Regions from separate parts of the Homo sapiens genome. Here region 1 is linked to region 2. Evidence: promoter capture Hi-C in 16 types of primary human blood cells and fetal thymus (Javierre and others, 2016). All regions are on one chromosome and are shown on one strand. The core of a region is centred on a gene start or on the middle of the fragment in contact, and the rest is flanking DNA. Distances in the headings are between cores, read along the strand shown. Region 1 overlaps CCN6 (cellular communication network factor 6). Region 2 holds the start of RPF2 (ribosome production factor 2 homolog).

Evidence for each region. The method cuts DNA at HindIII sites, captures the fragments that hold promoters and counts their contacts. A CHiCAGO score of 5 or more calls a contact.
Region 1: a fragment that was not itself captured here is called in contact with the fragment with the promoter of RPF2 in region 2 in 1 of 17 cell types (non-activated CD4 T cells); the score reaches 5.8 in non-activated CD4 T cells.

Annotation. Positions count from the first base shown.
Region 1 is chr6:112,065,107-112,070,162 of GRCh38, forward strand. It overlaps CCN6 (cellular communication network factor 6), which reads left to right. Exons shown (of 5, transcript NM_198239.2): 4 at 3,099-3,292; 5 at 4,233-4,580. The coding sequence ends at 4,514. Among named protein-coding and RNA genes, the nearest start is that of CCN6, 14 kb to the left of the region's middle. The HindIII fragment of the contact is 918 bases long and covers 1,873-2,790 here.
Region 2 is chr6:110,980,373-110,986,021 of GRCh38, forward strand. It overlaps RPF2 (ribosome production factor 2 homolog), which reads left to right and starts at 1,666. Exons shown (of 10, transcript NM_032194.3): 1 at 1,666-1,757; 2 at 4,634-4,766. The coding sequence starts at 1,735. The HindIII fragment of the contact is 9,963 bases long and covers 1-2,115 here.

The sequences.
Region 1 (5,056 bases), core at 1,082-3,581, 1.1 Mb after region 2:
GAGATATAGTTTGAGTGTATCATTTTACTTAATCTTTGCCTCAGACAGGGATAAATATCTGCAAAGGAAATTTTATAATGTTTTAGAATTTTCTGGTAAAACATTTAAAAACATTTTTAAAAGATCTACTAGGTCAGGAAGCTCTACTAAAATCTTACACCTCTGCTTATTTCTAACCTCTTCTCAGGAAAATTGACCAAATATTGTTCACATGTACCCTAGAACAACTTATTTTTATTGTTCTATTATGGGCAAGAAGTTTGACCATTCACTTCCCCAAATTTTAAAAGGTAACATTTCTATGTGATACAGGCAGAAATGGGAGGCTACTGCTGAAAAATATTTAAGAACTGACACATATTTTGAACTTGTAAATATTATTTCTAAAAATAGAAATCTCGTAGGAAGTCCTTTCCCTCACTCTGAAATTGAAGCTCAATTGTTAATCTCTCTGTAAACACACACACACAAACACACACACGCACACACACACAAACACACACGCACACACACACGCACGCACACACACACACACACAAACACACACATGCACACACACAGGCATTTTTAAGTAGGTTACCCATGTATCTATGTTCTCAGAAAAATGAAGTGTGATCCTTCATTACTCATCTTGTGTATCTGGCCATTTCAAACAGCTTAAGTATACTTATAAACCTTGTATTCTGGTCTGCTCTAAGTTAGCATTTTATTTAAGCATCAGCATATTTTGGGAACAGGAGTTTCAGAACCACCAGCAAATAAAGTATAGAGGAGGAGGGACTCAAAAGGGGCAACATCGAAGTCTGGTTCTTGTTCACATCTCTGTGTTCTCATCCAGAAATCAAGAATGCCTTTTTCTTAAAGTTTAGAGCTTAGTGAGAGGTGCCATGGAAATGCAGAATACTTGAATATGTTAACAACTCATGAGTTCACTTTTATTAAGTGGATATTTAATAAAGGCAACTATAAGCAGAGAAATGAGTTTAGATATTTAAGAACTAACTCTATGAAAGGAACATCCTCAGCAACTCCAGTTTTGTCAGTAAATTAGAAAAAAAATTTACTAGGTTGTTGTGAATTTGCATTTACTATACATGTTCAGTTGACAGCATGACACTGTTAATGCTCTGAAATCTCTGAAATTATAAGCCATGTCCTTATTTTTTTTTTTCAAAATGTACAGAACAGTTGGTTTTCTGCATTGGATTTTAGTCATTCAGTATAAGGCTCTTAGAACCCACACATAAACTTCCCTGGGAAGACTACCTTAGAGCAGTTTTCCACAAGTGAAGCCCTTTGGATCAAGTTCAAGTTGGTCTCATTTTAGAAGTTAGAGCAGTTCAGTGGATTCACTTTGACCTTGGTTGGGAGAGGCATCAGATAGTCAGTCTTAGTAGTTAGTGTTTTGTCAGGTAAAACAAGAAAATCTCCTGAAGTGTTCTCTGGTATTTATGATTTAGACCTAGGTGTGTTTCAAATGAAGTATACGTTCAGTCTAATGTCTCTTCTTTGCTTAACTGTGAAATTATATTTATGGCCCACACAGGAATTTGGCTTTTAAAATTAACCATAATGACAAAAACACATACTTTTAGATATATTTGTGACAGTAATTTATAGTCTATGGTTGGAATCTAGCTTTTGCTAGGTCAGTATGAAGCACGCAATGACATAATGCCCTCATGCTTTTTTCAATGCCCTCATGCTTTTTTCAATGCTCACCAAACACTAAGCTTTGTTTAAAAAATCTCTTCTAGTTTTCTTGCTTTTTAATGAATGGTAAATTCCTGAACTACAGCTGTCGGTTTAACAAGTGGGATTACTGGTAACACGGTAATCTAACCTGCCTTTATTTATTGCAGATGTGTGCCAAGCTTCTAATCTGCTTCCTGCATTGAGGTCTTTAAACTGTTGTCTACCTTCCAGGTATCTTCACGTTTCTGCTTCCTCTCCTCAGTTCTATGTGCAATTGCAAGAGACTCTACTGTCATAACACTGAAAGCAGTGTCACAGTATCAATTAAAATAGAGCACATACTTTAAAGAGACTATTTCCTATGAAGAAGGCTTTTTTTTTTTCTGGGTGTTTTTCGAGTTTTAAGTTGATTTTTTTGAAGTAATATAGCCAGAATTTTGCTGTGCAGACTCAAATCACAACCATACTCCCAAAGCATCCATTTCAAGATGCACATTAACCTTAAGGAAATGCCTTGAGACAGTAAGTCAATATGTAGTTTGCTTAAAATGAGCCAAGGGCCTGATTCATTTATAAGAAGAAGCTCCCAGTGACCTTACATGGAAATGGGAGCATTATTAGACCCTCTTATATTCTCTCTTCCCCTCCTATTTCTCCTTAGCAGCACATTGGAAGGGCTCTATCTACTCACTCACTGACCCATCTATTGATCCATCCATTCTGTTTTTTCATATGTAATTCGAAATCTTAGCCAATTGGAGAGTACTTTGGGCCTAAGAACATAGGGAGTGTGACAATTAAGTTGAATGAATGAAATTATACGCTTGCAATGACTTTCTATATAAATGATTAGTTTAGTTCAGTGTAGTATTAATTAGACAGTTTTCTAAAAGACTAGATTAAAACAAATGGAAGAAATCTGGTCTCACTGATAGTCTCATTCTCAAATATAATTTTTGTATTTTAGATTTTAACATATTATGAAAGTTAACATTAAGATCACACTGTTCTGATCAAATTCCCTAATTTTTATTTCAATGTCTGTTAGAAATGATGAGGCAAGAACAAGGGAAAAGACAACTCAACAGGAACATAAGCTTAGGTTTAGTATTCAGAGGACAGGCAAAGCAGAAAAATGCAAATGAGTAAATCTTCTCAGTTTTTCAAAGATAAAGTATTTTTATTCCTCCTAAGAGACTGGACTGTAATACTTGATTGAAAGTTAATTTTGGGGTTGGGAAAGAGGGAGATAGAGTGATAAATTAGACCATCGGCTTCTTTTATTCTGAGTTATATTATACAAAAATACTCAGATTTCTTAAACATTAAACATGATTAAAAATTATCTATTTATACAAGTACATTTATATGTATACATATGTACTTTTCTCCCTTTGTTTTAGCTTATAGAAATCTCCCACTTATTTGGAAAAAAAAATGTCTTGTGCAAGCAACAAAATGGACTCCCTGCTCCAGAACATGTGGGATGGGAATATCTAACAGGGTGACCAATGAAAACAGCAACTGTGAAATGAGAAAAGAGAAAAGACTGTGTTACATTCAGCCTTGCGACAGCAATATATTAAAGACAATAAAGGTAAAGTTTAAATATATTTAACTTAATTCAATATTAAGAGATTCCTGAAAAGTAAGCATGTGTGTGTTTTGGAGGGTGGGATGGTGTTTAGTTCTTAGAAAAATAAAAGCATCTCATTATAATGCTTAAAGTCAAACTATTTCAGAGGAAAACAGGTATTAACTGCATGTTGTGGGGAAAATTTTACCAACCAGAGCAGATTCTAACTTCTTTTTTCTATGTTAATGAATAAAAGATTTTGGTTGCTACACTATAATTATGAAAACAGATATTATGAACATCAGAGTAGAGAAGTCCTGATCTTAGTTATATATCACTAACTTGGAAGGAAGCCACACCATTTCCAAAATGCTCTATGCTTACATAGTAAACTTGCTAAAACACTATGATAAAATATTTACCCTAAGATTGTTTGGTATAACTAGAGCTGGTCCTGCTTCTTGAATGAGGCAGTAAGTCTGTCTCAAAAAGGGTAATTTTTAGAAATGCTACACAATCCTTCTACCCCAAAGTTATTCTCTATCATATTAGCAAGTTGACAATTCAGTTTTAAAGAAAGATTAGGATAATTATTCATCTATGCATCCACTGAAAACTGTCTGGGCTGTGTTATGGAATTTGCTAAGTCTTAGATAAATATTTAATAAGACATGGCTCTTGATATTAAACAAAACAGAAATTTCTATTTATTGTAAAATTGAGTCAAGAATAGATAGCAAAAAACATTGAGGAGTACGTGCTATAATATGATGAAGAATAGAGAGGACAGACCTCTGATAAGAAGGGGATCTTAAGGGTAAAGAGAGTGCTGGAAATCACTACATAGCAACTTTTATTAATGCCTCCAAATACTCAGATTTGTACTATAAACTATTCTACATGTTTTCAAAACTATTGTAATAAAATTTAAAGAATGACTTCATTTTATCTATCTTTTCAGATTCCCAAAGGAAAAACATGCCAACCTACTTTCCAACTCTCCAAAGCTGAAAAATTTGTCTTTTCTGGATGCTCAAGTACTCAGAGTTACAAACCCACTTTTTGTGGAATATGCTTGGATAAGAGATGCTGTATCCCTAATAAGTCTAAAATGATTACTATTCAATTTGATTGCCCAAATGAGGGGTCATTTAAATGGAAGATGCTGTGGATTACATCTTGTGTGTGTCAGAGAAACTGCAGAGAACCTGGAGATATATTTTCTGAGCTCAAGATTCTGTAAAACCAAGCAAATGGGGGAAAAGTTAGTCAATCCTGTCATATAATAAAAAAATTAGTGAGTATAAAATGGTGGCAAATCTACTTTGTTTAAAACAGTATGAATGCCTATTCTCAGATCACTACATTTAAGGCATTAGAAACTTTTAAAAAGTTATCTTAAAAATATACATAAAATTTGAACAACTTAAAAATTGAACTAATTTCTAAAATATATCCTATAATTATATAATACACAGACATTTGTTACCATCTAAGCATTTTGTATATGAAAAAATTATGCAATTTACAAGAAAATATTTTACAAAATAATCTGGAATACTTGCTAAAGCTGTATAAAAAGTATACTAAATTTTAGGCTGGGCGCAGTGGTTCATGTCTGTAATCCCAGCACTTCGGGAGGCCAAGGTGGGCAGATCATTTGAGGTCAGGAGTTTGAGACCAGCCTGGCCAACATGGTGAAACCCTGTCTGTAATTAAAAAAATACAAAAATTAGCCAAGTGTGGTGGCATGCGCCTGTAATCCCAGCTACTCGGGAGGCTGAG
Region 2 (5,649 bases), core at 416-2,915:
AGAGGCTGAAGCACTAGAATCACTTGAACCCAGGAGATGGAGGTTGCAGTAACCTGAGATTGCATCACTGCACTCCAGCCTGTGTGACAGAGTGAGACTCTGTCTCAGAAACAAAACAAAGCAAAGCAAAACAAAACAAAAAAACACAAAGCAGCATAATCCATAATAGCCAAAAAATAGGAACCATTCAAATGTACATAAGCTGCCGGGTACAGTAGCTCACGCCTGTATTCCTAGCACTTTGAGAGGCCAAGGCGGGTGGATTACCTGAGCTCAGAAGTTCAAGACCAGCCTGGCCAACATGGTGAAACCCTGTCTCTACTAAAAAATACAAAAGTTAGCAAGGTGTGGTGGTGCGTGCATGTAATCCCAGCTACTTGGGAGGCTGAGGCAGAACTGCTTGAACCCGGGAGGTGGACGGCGCAGTAAGCCAAGATCGCACCACTGCACTTCAGCCCTGGCGACAGAGCAAGACTATGTCTAAAATAAAAAAAGTACCTAGGTTGATAAATGGATAAACAAAATGTGGTATATCCATACAAAGGAATATTATTCAGTCCTAACAAAATGGAAGTACTGATCCACGCTACATGTATGAACCTCAAAAAGATAGTGAAAGAAGTCAAACACAAAAGGCCATACGTTGCACGAAACCATTTATATATGTTCAGAATAGGCAAATCCATTGAACATAAAGTAGATTATTGGTTGCCAAGGGCTGGCAGGAGGGGGAAGTGGGGCATGGACTGCTACTGGGTGTGTGTGTCAGGGGGGTTCTTTTTGAGGTGATTAAATATTCTGGAATTAGTGGTGATATTTGCACATCTTTGTGAATACACCAAAAATCACTGAATTGTACACTGTAAAGGGGTACATTTTATGGTATGTGAAGTATATGGTAACTTAAAAACTGGGGAAAAATCACGAACAGCAGTACATTTTCTGCGCATCTTTTATGTACTAGGCAACTGTGGTAGTCATAAATTCTGTCACACAGATCGCATAGTTGTCAATAGTGCCCCTTTCACATCAATGTTTTTAGTGCTTATGTGAGTACCTACCGTGCAATCAATCAACCTTTCTAGCATCCTGGGATTCCTTGAAGAATAAAATCTGGTTTCTGAATACCTGACTCCAGGTATGCACACTAGCGCGTACATCAAACTGCGAGGGTCTATGTTATTTTATTTTATTTTTATTTTATTTTTGAGACGAAGTCTCGCTCTGTCACCCAGGCTGGAGTGCAGTGGCGCGATCTCCGCTCACTGCAACCTCCGCCTCCCGGGTTCAAGCAGTTCTCCCTGCCTCAGCCTCCCGAGTAGCTGGGGTTAGAGGCGCCCGCCACCACGCCCGGCTAATTTTTGTATTTTTAGTAGAGACGGGGTTTCGCCATGTTGGCCAGGCTGGTCTCGAACTCCTGTTATCAGGTAATCCGCCCGCCTGGGCCTCCCAAAATCCTGGGATTACAGGCGTGAGCCACCACGCCCGGCCAGTGTTACTTAAAAGTATTACCTCGCACCTGTAACTCCAGGAAAGAGCCGGGGCAAAAATCCGTAACCAAGACAACAGGGCGCGATTCCAATCAAGATGGCCGCCAGCGCCTCTAGACGCCCTCTACGAGGCCGTCCCCGGAAGTGGCGTTACGCGCAGCTTCCGGTTCCGCCTGTTCCGGCGCACGTAATCGCCGAGGGCACGTGCATGCCCCCTGGTTAAGAGTTGCAGGTAGCGGTAGCGATGGACACTCTGGATCGAGTAGTGTAAGTGCGCTGGGTCTCAGCCCCGGGGAGCGTTGGGGTGAAAGGGTCCCGTGATGAGGGTGGTACTGTCTCGGCCTCTCACTCTTCCTGGTTACCCCTCTAATTACCTGGGTGGGGGCCGATCGATCACCAGCCCGGGTCCTCCTCAGCGCGAGCTGCTTGCCAGGAGACAGTGGGGAAGCTCTCAAGTGGGAGCCGTGGGATGGGAGGGATGTGGGATTGAAGCGTTGGCCGCTTTTATCCTAGCCAGTTGAAAAACGTCTGACTTCCGAAGTATGAGACAGATGGTATAGTGGGGTTAGGAGCACAGCCCTCGGAATCCGACAGATCTGAGTGACAGTCTGGCGCGTCCACTTAAAGCTTTGTGACTTTGGGTCATTAAATATCTCTAAATCTTAGCTTATTCTGTAAAATAGCGCTCACCATAGTCATACTTCATAGAGCTGTGAGGGTTAGTTTCGAGAATGTATGTAGAGCCTTTGCTGCAGCACGTAGAAATGTTCATTAGTTTTTTCTTTTCCTTCCAACTTTGTACACTCCTCTGAGTTATCCTTGAATGATACCTGTTTTAAATTTGTTCAAGAATATTTGGGCTAAACAGCCCTGCTGTTACTTGCTGTGATTTTCTTGCTATTTACCTAAGTTAACATGTATCCAAAACGACAGTTTTAGTCATTCAGAGATTTTGCACACCTGCTATGCCTCTAGCTGTTTGGACTACAAAGAGTAGTTTACTAGGTATTGGGACTAGTTCACACGTTAATTGGGAGCAGGCAGCTAATAAAACATGTTAATTGCTATTTGCATTTGTTGCTGTTTAATGAGATACAAAAGATAGAATAATTTGTATCTTTATCAACCAGTAAATGATCAGAAGCTTTATATGTGACATTATATCTGGAGGAGTATTTTAAAAATCTACATGGGAAACTTAAGTGTATGTATGGTCTCTTTTTCTTCCCAAAGTGTCCATGGGACTGGACGAGGGAGGGTCATAATTATTTGGGAGGAAGAATTCTTTCAGTAGATGGCAGAGAACTGTCTGAAAAGCAAGGTGCTCATTGTAGAGGAAGCAGAGGTGAAGCCCCTCTTTTGAACAGAAGTGTGTAAAAACATGCCACTCCTACTGTCACATCATAAAGTCAGAATAATGAATTTATTTTCCCTTCATATTTTACAGGGTAATTGGTCTAGACGAATTTTTAAATCTAGCTTTAAAAAATTTGTTTTTTTTTGAGACAGGGTATCACTCTGTCACCCAGGCTGGAGTGCAGTAGCCCCATCACAGCTCACTGCAGCCTCGACCTCCCTGGGATCAAGCAGTCCTCCTACCTCAGCCTGCTGAGTAGCTGGGACTATAGGCGCACACCACCACAGCTAATTTTTGTATTTTTTGTAGAGACAGGGTTTTGCATTGTTGCCCAGGCTGGTCTCGAACTTCTGGGCTCAGTGATCCATCCACCTTGGCCTCCTAGAGTGTTTTTATTACAGGCTGTGGGCCACCTCCCAGCCCTAGCTCATTTTAAAAATTGGCCTGTTTACTTGCTGTGTGATCTTGGGCACATTACCTGTCTGTTCAATTGCCTCATCTGTAAAGTGAAGATAAGAATTGTAACTCGCGCGTGGAGGCTCACGCCTGTAATCCCAGCACTTTGGGAGGCTGAGGCGGGGGGGTGGGTCACGAGGTCAGGAGATCGAGACCATCCTGGCTAACACGGTGAAACCTCGTCTGTACTAAAAATACAAAAAATTAGCCGGGCGTCGTGGCGGGCGCCTGTAGTCCCAGCTACTCGGGAGGCTGAGGCAGGAGAATGGCGTGAACCTGGGAGACGGAGCTTGCAGTGAGCCGAGATCGCACCACTGCACTCCAGCCTGGGCGACAGAGCGAGACTCTGTCTCAAAAAAATAAATAAATAAATAAATAAGAATTGTAACTCTCAGGATTGTGGTGAAGATTAAGCCTTAATAGAGTGACTCCATGTAAACATCAGCCTTATTATTCCCCATTGTTGGCAATAATACTGGCATTCTCAGCAATGATGTTGGAGTGCAACAGTGTATACTTCCTGGCAGGCATTGTGGTCTTAAACCTAAAAGAAAAATAAGCAGTCGTTAGTCTTATGTTTAGTAAATGTCCACAGGTTGATCAGCAGTTGATGCTCAATTCTTTGTATTAGGGTACAGGATACAGTTTGACTACTTAAAGTTTGAAGAAAAAAGAAGAGTAAGAAAGAGTAAGAGAAAAAAAACAGCAACAGTATTTACTTGAGCCTTTTATTTTTTACTTAAAAAAAAGATTGGAAAGAGCAGTAATAAAAGAATGGTGGGAATACAAAAATGAAAGCTTTTTTTTAAAAGCTATCAAAACACTTATTTAACAATAATAAGGAAATATCTTTTACTAATATCTACCAAAAAAGTGAGATTTTGGCCGGCCCTTGTGGCTCGCACCTGTAATCCCAGCACTTTGGGAGCCGAGGTGAGCGGATCACCTGAGGTCAGTAGTTCGAGAATAGCCTGACCAACATGGCGAAACCCTGTCTCTGCTAAAAATACAAAAATTACCCAGGCGTGGTGGTGTGTGCCTGTAATTCTAGCTACTCGGGAGGCTGAGGCAGGAGAATTGCTTGAACTCAGGAGGTGGATGTTGCAGTGAGCCAAGATTGTGCCATCACTCTCCAGCCTGGGTGACAGAGTGAGACTCCATCTCAAAAACAAACAAAAAAAAACAAACAAAAAAAAGAAAGTGAGATTTTTTTTAAGGGTGGAACCCTAAGTGACAAATATGTTTTTAAGAATTTTCATATTAGTTAAGTCATGGCTTTGCAATGTGAGGAAAATGTTTAAATAGTTATGAATTGTGCTTTTCTGAACAGAAAGCCCAAAACGAAAAGAGCCAAGAGATTCCTTGAGAAGAGAGAACCGAAACTCAATGAAAATATTAAAAATGCCATGCTGATTAAAGGGGGAAATGCAAATGCAACAGTGACAAAAGTACTTAAAGATGTGGTAAGTATATATACTTAATCTTTAAAAGGTATTGAAGTCATTTTAGAATTTTCAGCATGCTAGGATGGGCTGTCGGAGAAATACGTAGATAAGCTTGCCTTACCATAAGAACTACTAGTCTTAGAGAAGAGCTAAAGTTGGGGGTTTATTTACCTTGCGTGGCACCTTTTCTTAAAGCAACTAGTTCTCTTAGTAAATTTTATTATTGTTTTTTAGGAGCACAGGTGGGTCTGGTAGAGTGAAGGTCTCCCTTAGTAAATTTAAACTGTTTTCAATTACTAGAATTTGGCTTACTTACATTTTAGGAAAAAATCTAATTTGTAAAGAGAAGTAACTGCATATTGCTGTATATTTAGTCATTCAACAACACCGGTTACTGTGCCTCTGCTGGGAATTAATAGGTGAGACACAGTTCTTTCAGTGAGCTTAGAGAGATAGACATGTAAAAAGTTCTTACACTGTGCTGTGCTGGAGGCATGGACAGGGTAGGGTGGGAAACAGTTAAAATCACATAGGGGAGGCCAGGCACGGTGGTTCACGCCTGTAATCCCAGCACTTTGGGAGGCCGAGGCAGGAGGATCACGAAGTCAGAAGTTCGAGACCAGCCTGGCCAACATGGTGAAACCCCGTCTCTACTAAAAGTACAAAAATTAGCCGGGTGTGGTGGCGGGCGCCTGTAGTCCCAGTTGCTCGGGAGGCTGAGGCAGGAGAATCGCCTGAACCTGGGAGGTGGAGGTCACAGTCAGTCGAGATTGTGCCACTGCTCCAGCCTGAGTGACAGAGAGAGACTCCATTTCAAAAAAAAAAAAAAAAAATCACATAGGGGGACCCCCACACAGGGTAGGTTCCCCCAGAGATAACACTGCAGCTTCATTTTGAAGGA